Linked DNA regions of Homo sapiens: all the other regions are linked to region 2. The links are contacts of gene promoters, found by promoter capture Hi-C in blood cells and fetal thymus (Javierre and others, 2016). All regions are on one chromosome and are shown on one strand. Each heading gives the region's core, a stretch centred on a gene start or on the middle of the fragment in contact. The rest is flanking DNA. Distances are from core to core; before and after follow the strand shown. Region 1 holds the start of SERPINB2 (serpin family B member 2). Region 2 holds the start of SERPINB13 (serpin family B member 13). Region 3 overlaps SERPINB10 (serpin family B member 10).

Evidence for each region. The method cuts DNA at HindIII sites, captures the fragments that hold promoters and counts their contacts. A CHiCAGO score of 5 or more calls a contact.
Region 1: a contact is called between a fragment that was not itself captured here and the fragment with the promoter of SERPINB13 in region 2, in 2 of 17 cell types (M2 macrophages and M1 macrophages). The highest score is 5.6, in M2 macrophages.
Region 3: a fragment that was not itself captured here is called in contact with the fragment with the promoter of SERPINB13 in region 2 in 1 of 17 cell types (M1 macrophages); the score reaches 5.2 in M1 macrophages.

The regions. Positions count from the first base shown.
Region 1 is chr18:63,887,074-63,890,262 of GRCh38, reverse strand. It overlaps SERPINB2 (serpin family B member 2), which reads right to left and starts at 2,558. Exons shown (of 8, transcript NM_002575.3): 1 at 2,493-2,558. All of the region lies in intron 2 of LOC124904356 (a long non-coding RNA gene), which reads left to right. The HindIII fragment of the contact is 8,502 bases long and covers 1-3,189 here.
Region 2 is chr18:63,585,914-63,588,710 of GRCh38, reverse strand. It overlaps SERPINB13 (serpin family B member 13), which reads right to left and starts at 1,368. Exons shown (of 8, transcript NM_012397.4): 1 at 1,261-1,368; 2 at 1-60. The coding sequence starts at 43. RefSeq lists an enhancer at 1-82. The HindIII fragment of the contact is 1,527 bases long and covers 1,032-2,558 here.
Region 3 is chr18:63,916,047-63,919,019 of GRCh38, reverse strand. It overlaps SERPINB10 (serpin family B member 10), which reads right to left. Exons shown (of 8, transcript NM_005024.3): 3 at 1,499-1,564; 4 at 918-1,055. Among named protein-coding and RNA genes, the nearest start is that of SERPINB10, 9.6 kb to the right of the region's middle. The HindIII fragment of the contact is 4,705 bases long and covers 1-2,973 here.

The DNA.
Region 1 (3,189 bases), core at 367-2,866, 300 kb before region 2:
ATTGGTCGCTTCTTTCTTGCGTGAACCCTTGATTCATGAACTCTTTTTTTTTAAGAAAGTGATTGGAATTTATTTGTATTAAAATGTCTCATTTGGAATACAACCAGACTATTTTATCAAGACAAAAATAGTAAATTAAATAAAACGTATCCCTAAAACTCTCTCACCTCCTCTCCTCGTTTAATCTTTGCAGAATCTGTATGAGGTAGAGGTGATTCTCCCTATTTTATAGATTATATCCTGATGCTCAGAAACATTAAGTAACTTGTATAAGGTCACACAGCTGGTAGGTAGTGGAGCAGGGATTCAAGCCCAGGTCTGTCTAAGGAAGCCCACTCTTTCCAATGTTCCACATCGCTTCACTCGGTGGTGCATAGCTTCACTATGAAGTGTAAGAGCTTAAGCAAGTTGTAGTGCAAGAAATGCTAGAAAGAGGAAGTCAAAAGAAAAAAGTAGTAAACCTGTAATTCTACTAGAAGGCTTATTAGGAAGTAAAAACAAAAAGTCACTTTTTTTTTCTCTTGCTTCATCATAGATACTAGATTACATTGGATGGCTCAAAAATTTGTTCCTCTTCCTCTTAAAATTGTCTTCATAATTAAATAGATTTATTGTACAGATTTTTAAAATTAATTATCTCAATATCTTTTGGAAACAAACTGAGTATTAATAACACAAATAAAATATTTCTCGATCCCCATGTGAGAAATGTAAATAAGAGATCAGAGCCACAAACATAAATTTAGACTTCTCCCATACCTAAATACGTGATTCTTTGTAACAATTCATACCGGATTCTTTGTAACAATCCACATAGTAACTTTGATAGTAAAAATATTTAACTCTAAAGACAAACTAACAGAAAGTTCTGTTAATACTAAGTTAGAATTTAAGGTAACTTGATAAAGAAAAAAATTAATAAGAACAGAAGCAAATTTTCCTGGATGCATTTACTTCTTTCAAAAAAGATAGTTTCAATTATATTTTTAAATAAGGTGTAATTAATTACATTTAATGTAAAAATAATATTTGATGTCTGTATGGCAGTCACCAAATTCCTTCAGCTCCCTTTTCAATTTGCATAATTACCTGTCCAGTAAGGCTTAGTAATTTCTGTAATATGAATGAAAATATGAAAATAGAGATTGCACAGCTGGTCCATTTCAGAAGCCTAGACTGGATCACAGACTTCTGATTCCAAGTCTAATGCTTTCCTACAAACTTTTCAAATAAGGTCTGAGAGTTTCATAATTTTAGAAATCTATGAAGGCACCCATATGCAGTGTTTCCTGACTCTCAGATAAGGCCATACTTTATGTTTGAATGAAAATCTTTCAAAACAAGGCAAAATTGAAGTCATGGGGTATTGTGAAATACCACAGCCTCCTGGAACAGGTATACCTGTTGTGAATTTTTTAACATTATAGTAATTTATATGATCTCATTAACTTCCAAATAGTATGCTCTTAATTAAGGTTTAATAGTATTACTGGGATGAATTAATGGGAGTAATATGCAGGGTTGGGCTTCCTGGTGGTGTGTGTGTTGGTTCCTGCAACACAAGTTGACAAATGCACCACTGAAACTTGGCACAGGGAAGGAAGAATTTGGGAGGAGTCACCAGGCACACGGCCATTGTCTCTCACCCTGTTGGCCCTGGATGTTAGATTGGAGTTTGCTGTAGCATTTAAAACAAATTTTGTTTACAATTAGACAGTGGAAATATTTTGAAATTGACCACAAAAATTAATGAGAACTAAGAGAAAACAACAGTTTCAAGGGAATATCTCATCAAATACTGCTACATCTCCCCCAACAGAATTAAAAGCAATTTCTCCTAGTTGATGGCTTTCATAATGAATAAGTATCTTTTTATGGGATATTAAGTTATTTACTGAACCATACTTCAGTCAACCCTGCAACTACTTTGGCTGATTATTCTCTTTCACTAAATTGACCCATTATTGAACTAAACTCAATAAACATATTGTTGTACTAGATTGACCCAGCCCAAATTGCTACTTAATTTTTGCAGTTCCTGCTTTTTCATTTAAGGTGCAAATGAAGTCTTCTTTTCCTATTATTTATATACAATGTAGAGATTACATTCAATTGCTTAAATGAAAATATTTTAATGTATCTAGTTGTTTCCATCAAATTTAGTGTCAAAACAGTAGCTAGTAGAGAACATATATAATCTAATCTGTTCAATAAAATTGGCATCACAATCTGAATGTACATTTTGTTTTGGTTAATGCTACAAAGGTATTTGTTGGCTTCTGAGATTCAAAATTAAACCTTATAAATTTAATTCAAATCTTGAAATAAAATATTTTCAATTCAACAACTAAACAAGAAAACACCACTTAAATTTTACTCGCCCTCTACAAACACCCCACATCCAAATTTTCAATCTATTAATACCAGCATGAGGGAAGAGAAAACATGAAACCCTATTTCCCATAGACATGGCATGGAAATCATTGAAATACCTGGTTGTTCTCTGGTTATTCTCTGAGTTGCTGTCTGACGGGCAATGCTCCTCTGAGAGTTGTTACAGTTCAGACATGGTAATGACTGGTTTTATACAGCTTTGCCCCTCCCACATGGCATTTTTTTTTCTCCCTCTGTCTTTTGATCTGTGTCCTTTGAGTGATTCAACATTTTACTCAGGAAGACATCATTAGAATAGAAATACTTGTTTGTAAAGGCATGGTTTAAGAAATTTTGGGGGAGGATGAGGTCACTCTGAAACTTAAGAATTTGTCAATATCTACACATGCCTGTGAAAGTTAGCTAAAATCTGTCAGCCCCAGTTTCAAGATTTCCCCCACTATACTTGTGCTCAAGGATAGTATCAAATTCTACAATACTTCTTCTAGCTTTGGACAACCATGGCCTGTGGGCTTCTTCCAATATATAAATATAATGAGATTTACTCTCTCTTTTGAGCCTAGGGAGACCCAAGCGATGCTTAGGGCATGGGAGGGAAGAAAAAATCCATTTTCTGTCTTAGAAATTCTCTATTTTAATCTGTCTTACATTGTCTCAAGCTGTAATTTTCGAAATAACTCGGATTCTACCCTAATATCCTGACACAAGAAGAATTTTTCATCTTCTCTTGATTATAAAATAGATCTTATGGCCGGGTGTGGTGGCTCATGCATGTAATCCCAGCACTTTGGGAGG
Region 2 (2,797 bases), core at 119-2,618:
GATCAAACCCAAGTCGAGTGCTGACGGCGCCAAGTGAATCCATGATGATTTTAGCGAGACCTAGAATAGCAAGAACAACAATCAAAACTGAACATTTGAATTACTCTGTGTCAGGGGAATCCTTTCTGCTTCTATTCCTCTTCTTGCATCGATCCGGAATACAGGGATTTCCACCCTTTTGGTGAAAGGTCGCTGCTGCCTGCTTCTCACGTCCTCTCTTGGCCTTCTCTTGCTGGGAGACATCCATCAATCTACTGGAGTCTTCCGTCATCCGGTGGTGCTCAGTTCTTATTTCCCCGCGGAGCAGGGTTAATGTTTTAATGGCTTTATTCTCTTGCTCTCTGTCTGACCCTGCCTGTCTCTGCCTCTCCACAGCCTCCTCTTCATGGAAGCTTCCCCAGGTAGACCCAGCCCTTGTCCAGGCGACACCAGTTTGTCCAGATGTGGGGCCCATGATAAGGCAGGGGGGTAGGCACAAGAATCTCCACGGGCCTCAAGTTCAAACAGTGCTCTCAGATCCAACCTTAGCAATAATTAAGCCGAGACTTGAATCCTTATCTGATACTATTTCTCAATTGATTCAAAATTCAGCCCAGAGAGTGACAGGATTGATTAAATCTCTTAAACCCCTTTCCCTAACTGCATACAAACTTGACTCTGGGCTGAATTTTTCTGAAGCAGAAACCACATATCTCTGGTCATGAATTATTAGGTGGAGATGAAAGGGTTTTCTTTTTTATACTTTTCTGTATTGTTTTAGGCTTGTACATGAGCTTGCATTACTTTTGTCATTTCACAAAAATAGTTTTTAAAGAGCAATTAATATTTGCCAAAAATAAATAGGTAGAACTGTTTTTATGTTTGCTTCATTACCAACTACTTTAAAACTAGTAAGTAAAGGCTTTAGGAGGAATCCTAAAACAAGAATAAGATTAATGAAAAATAAAGTTTTTTAAAGCCCACATACTTTGGGGCCTTTTGCCCTCAAGGGCTCATCCCCGCTAAGGCATCCCACATCTGATATCAAAGCTTTCATTTCAACCTCAGGTTTCCTTGCAGAGATCCTTTACAGGTTAACTCAGAAATAAAATGGATTAATTTACTGTCAAAGAAGATACATTGTCATGGCCATGTTGGAACTGAATTAAATAAAACTACCTCCAGAAAGTCTATGCAAAATAAAAGTAATTCTTTCAAACAACAAACATCATTGTTCTCAAAATACAGAGGTCTTAAATTGGAGCCAAAATAAGAACTTACCTCGGGTTTTTGGAGAGACGGTGGTGGCTGGGCAACGAACTAGGAAGCATAAGTCAATTAAGTAGCTGGGATCCTTAATTTATAGTTCTCCACATCTGCTTCAGCAGTGGTTTTCCACCTTGCGTGCACCTTAAAATCTCCTTGGAACTTTAAAAAAAATCTATGCCCAAGCCCCACCCCAGACCAACTGAGTCAGCATCTCTCGAGTGGAAACCAGGCATCAGAATTTTTATCACCGCAGGTGATTACAATGTACAGCCAACGCTGGGAACCAAAGGTGTATAGCCTGATGAACACATACATTAAATGCATACTTTACTTACCACAGATGGACAGAGCTGTGTCCTGACAAGTCATTCTCTGTAACAGAGTTATTTTTGCATTTGCATTATTTAGGAGTGCCAAATGCCAGGAAGAAAATGAAAGAAAACTATCTTGCTACAAAGGAACAAGAAAAAAGAACAAGAAAAGTTTGGGTAGGCAGCCACACACAAGCGAGCATGCGCACACACACACACGCACACACACATACACACACACACCTATTATTCTCAAGTATTCCATCCATTAATTGTAAAATATCTCATTTTAATTCATTCAATAAACATTTATCAAGTCTATTATGTACCAGGTACTGTGTCTAATGCCAATAATTCATAAGCACTCAATATCCTCACTGATTTCAGGAAAACAACACTACCAAAAAAACTCAATAGGAAATTACACCCCCAGATTCCAGTTTTTCCTGCCAACCCTGGAGCATTTCTACTGGCCCTACCAGTTCATTAAAAGAAACTGTGCTTGGATTAGTCTTAGCTTTAATCTTCAGTAAAGGGCGTGGAGATTTGCCATCGTTGCTGGGCAGCAGCTCCTAGAAGGGTGTCTTAGCTCTTCCTTCTGCCTAGAGGAACACCTCCCTAGATACGCAGGCTCGAAGGGCATATGGGTCATGTGTGTTCCAATCTCCATACTCACAATTTACTTTTTTCAAAATATTTTGATTGCTGCTCTTTAAGCAAACTCAAAGCCACATTTAGTTGATTTGCTTTTTAATAGGCACTGAGAATCTTGCAAATTGAGTAAGGTTTAGAAAGAATTAACACTTAGTGAACCCTGGATGCCAGTGAAATGGAAATGTTAGTTTTTTAAAATGGCATAAAATCTCTGAGTCGGCCATAATGCTTTATGTTTTAATATCCCTATCCATTTATATCTTCTTATTTCTTTCTCTGTGGCCCCTAGACTTCCTGTTCTATTGCCCAGCCATTTCCACAGGCCTTCTGCTTTTTGCTAAAGCTTTTGCTCTACCACCTGCTTTCACCGGGAAACCTGGCATGTCCTGAGGACTACTACATCCCATAGTCTTTTCTGGGAACGGCCACTCATATCTTGGGAAAGCAAAGTCACCATTCCTATTCTCCCTCGCACTCCCTCTTCTTCCAAGTCTTTCTTCCTTCAGTCACCTTCAATGCTCCCCTTTGGAAACTTAGACCATCACGCTGTGCTGCTCTGTCCCCAACCACAGGTCCCTCCGTGA
Region 3 (2,973 bases), core at 274-2,773, 330 kb before region 2:
ATGAAGTCTAAATTCTGTGGAATTTAAAATCTAATAAAAGGAAAACTTAAATATTTTTGAGGGACCACTGCCTGTCTTAATTCAGGGCTTGTGGACATATAAAAATATGTTTGTCTCTATCTCTGTGTCCCTCTTGTTTCTAAGTGCCCACTGAGTCAATCATGTCTCCTACTTCTGCATCAAACGAGAGTCCATGAGCCTACAAGAAAGGAAACTGTCTTTAAGATTCCATTTGGATGATTTTATGTCTTTAGTAATAACAAAGCTCAATTCCTGAACTCCCCAGAATTCACTAGATTTGAACAGAGATAGCATTGCTTGAAATCACAAGGTAGCTTTATTTTATCTTATTGCTATTCTTCTACCCTATCTAATTTCCTTGCTCTTTGCCCACTGGACACACGGGTCCTCCTGCCCAAAGAGATGTTGGACAATGAAGGAAATTATTGACCTGGGTTGTCATGTGACCCTCTTAACAGAGGACAGAGTCATCATGGTCTGCATTGGTGGGGTTTCAACCCTTAGTAAAGAGGAGAGGTTGATATTATTTCATGTTTCATGTTCCCAAAGTCTGTAAAGTCTTGATGTGAAAACTCCTCACTTCTCTCATCCCAAGGTCAGTTTTGCTCTCAAGTAGACAGTCTCCAGCCAAGTCTCCATATGTATTTGTAGGCCATTCTCAGGGGCTACCTCTTTATTCTAGACAGAAATATCTGATTCCTAGATCTGATTTGAGACCTGTTATTGGTTTCCTTTACCACTAGACACTCATTGGTTGGTCTAATTGATTGTTTGCAGGGAAGTACTGACCACATGAAGATTGTCCCTGGATCCCTAAAGAAATATACAGAGTTTACTGATTGGTCTCACATTGCTCTTTCTTTTCCATTAGCTTAAAATAAGACATTTGCACTTACATTGTGAAATGCATACGTTTTCTCTCCATATATCGCATTGGCTGTTTTAAGTAAGTAGTCATCGTTGGGCTTGAGGATTTCTGAGATAAGTGTTTGGAAATCAGAGTGTATTTCTTCCGAGTTGCTCAAGTTGAATTCCTTTAAAAGAGAAGGAACTAGTCAAATAAAATGTTGAACAAGAGTTACGTACATGTTAGCAAACTAAAGCTAAATAAAATTATTTGGGGAATTGCAAACAAAAGTTGAAAATGTTCCTAAAGTGGATAAAAATGTTTTCTTTAGTGTTAGTGCAAAAGAATGAAATGTTATTGAGGCCATAATTTTCTTCACATTTAGTTTGCAAAAGCAGGCAAGGAAAAGTTTGAAACTAGAGAAATTTTTAGAGAGATTAAAAGGGCGTGGGGACAAGAGATCTTTCAAAAGGTGTAGATATTTTGTATTCCAAAAAAAGTTTCTGTAACTTTAATATATGTTTCTAAGAAAAATTACCTGCTAAAAGTTGCTTCAGTTATCACTAAAATACATGTGCTAAAAGTACTTTTTCCTTAATTATGAAATATATATTAAAGGATAAGATATACCATTTTCCTTTTTTTTTCACTTTCAGGGTCACATTTGACTCCCTGGTCTCTGTTAAATTGAAGCACCTGTAATTTCAATAAAAATACAAATGAATAGACTGCAGAGAAGTAATTATATAAATCATACATCATCTGTAAATACAAGTCAGTCATTCCTATAATTGCAGAACATATAATTAGTTAAACAAAGGGGCTCTGACTTGACTTAATGTGTGTAATAAAATAAGTCAAGAACTGCTCTTAAATAAATTTTCTAAAGTCGAATTTAAGTTGCTAGTCTCTTTATTTTCCTATGTTTTGTAACTAGAATGATGTTAGGAAAACCTTGAGGTAAAATTCTCTTATTTTCCGTATTTCCTTTTTACTCATGGTTGTTTTAAGAAGAATGCTAGGTGTCCAACTGAGACCATCATTTAGACAGTTTAGGTAAAAGCCATAATTATGTGGAAAATTAAGGAATTTTAGTTGTTTTTTTTCTAGTTAAATGCTCAGTTCCTATTGTCTACCACCACTTGACATATTTAGGCGCAATGTTTGTGTTTACCCCAGCATTTCACTGGAAAGTTAACAGGAAAGATGTAGATACTCTTCTTTCCTTGGAATTGTACAACAATAGAACAGAAGGCAATACTTTTATCTGCCAAGTCCTGGACCCGGCTGACAATAAGAAATACGGTATACTGCTTCAACGGTTGCATTGACCCATGTTAACAGAACAAGGGCCACCTGCCATACATAAAGGGGTGCACAGTTAATTCATGAGGCCCATTTGCAACTAAAAGTGTTAACATCCGAAACAAGGACAAGCAACACCCAGCAATATATTTATATGAAATAGATTCACATTGGAATCCACTTAAGATTGTCTATCACATTAATGATTAAGACTTTTGAGCTAATGAACCTGTCATTAACAAGTTGTGAACAAGGATTTTGTTGTTGCTGTTGTTGTTTTTAAACCACCTGATATCTTGTGAACTACAAGAGTAAGGATGTTATCCCAAGTCCAGACTAATATAGCATGTGTTCTGCCCACTTCCCTCAGAATTACCAACCGTGTTCATATCCATACTTTCTGAGGAAGTCACCTTCTTGGGTGAAAATTCTGTCATTTGGCCTTTTGGTTTTGCAAGATTTAGGGCCGAGTTTACTCCTTCTGTTTTTTTTTTTTTTTATTTAAAATCACATTTATATATACATATTGTTGCATATATATATGTATTCATATATATTTTTACACACACATATGGCTATTTTGCTATCTATGACTACATATATATATTTACATACGCACAATGTTTTGAGGATGCTTATTGCAAAAATAGTTCTGTATATAATAGTATTATATTGTTATTGTAATGATCTTAATGGGCTCCTTAGATTCATTCAGATAACCAGGGACTAAACAAAGAGAGAATCAAACAAAGCATGAGAAACAGAATTCTTTTATTTTTCTTTTTTGTGTCTTCAAGAAA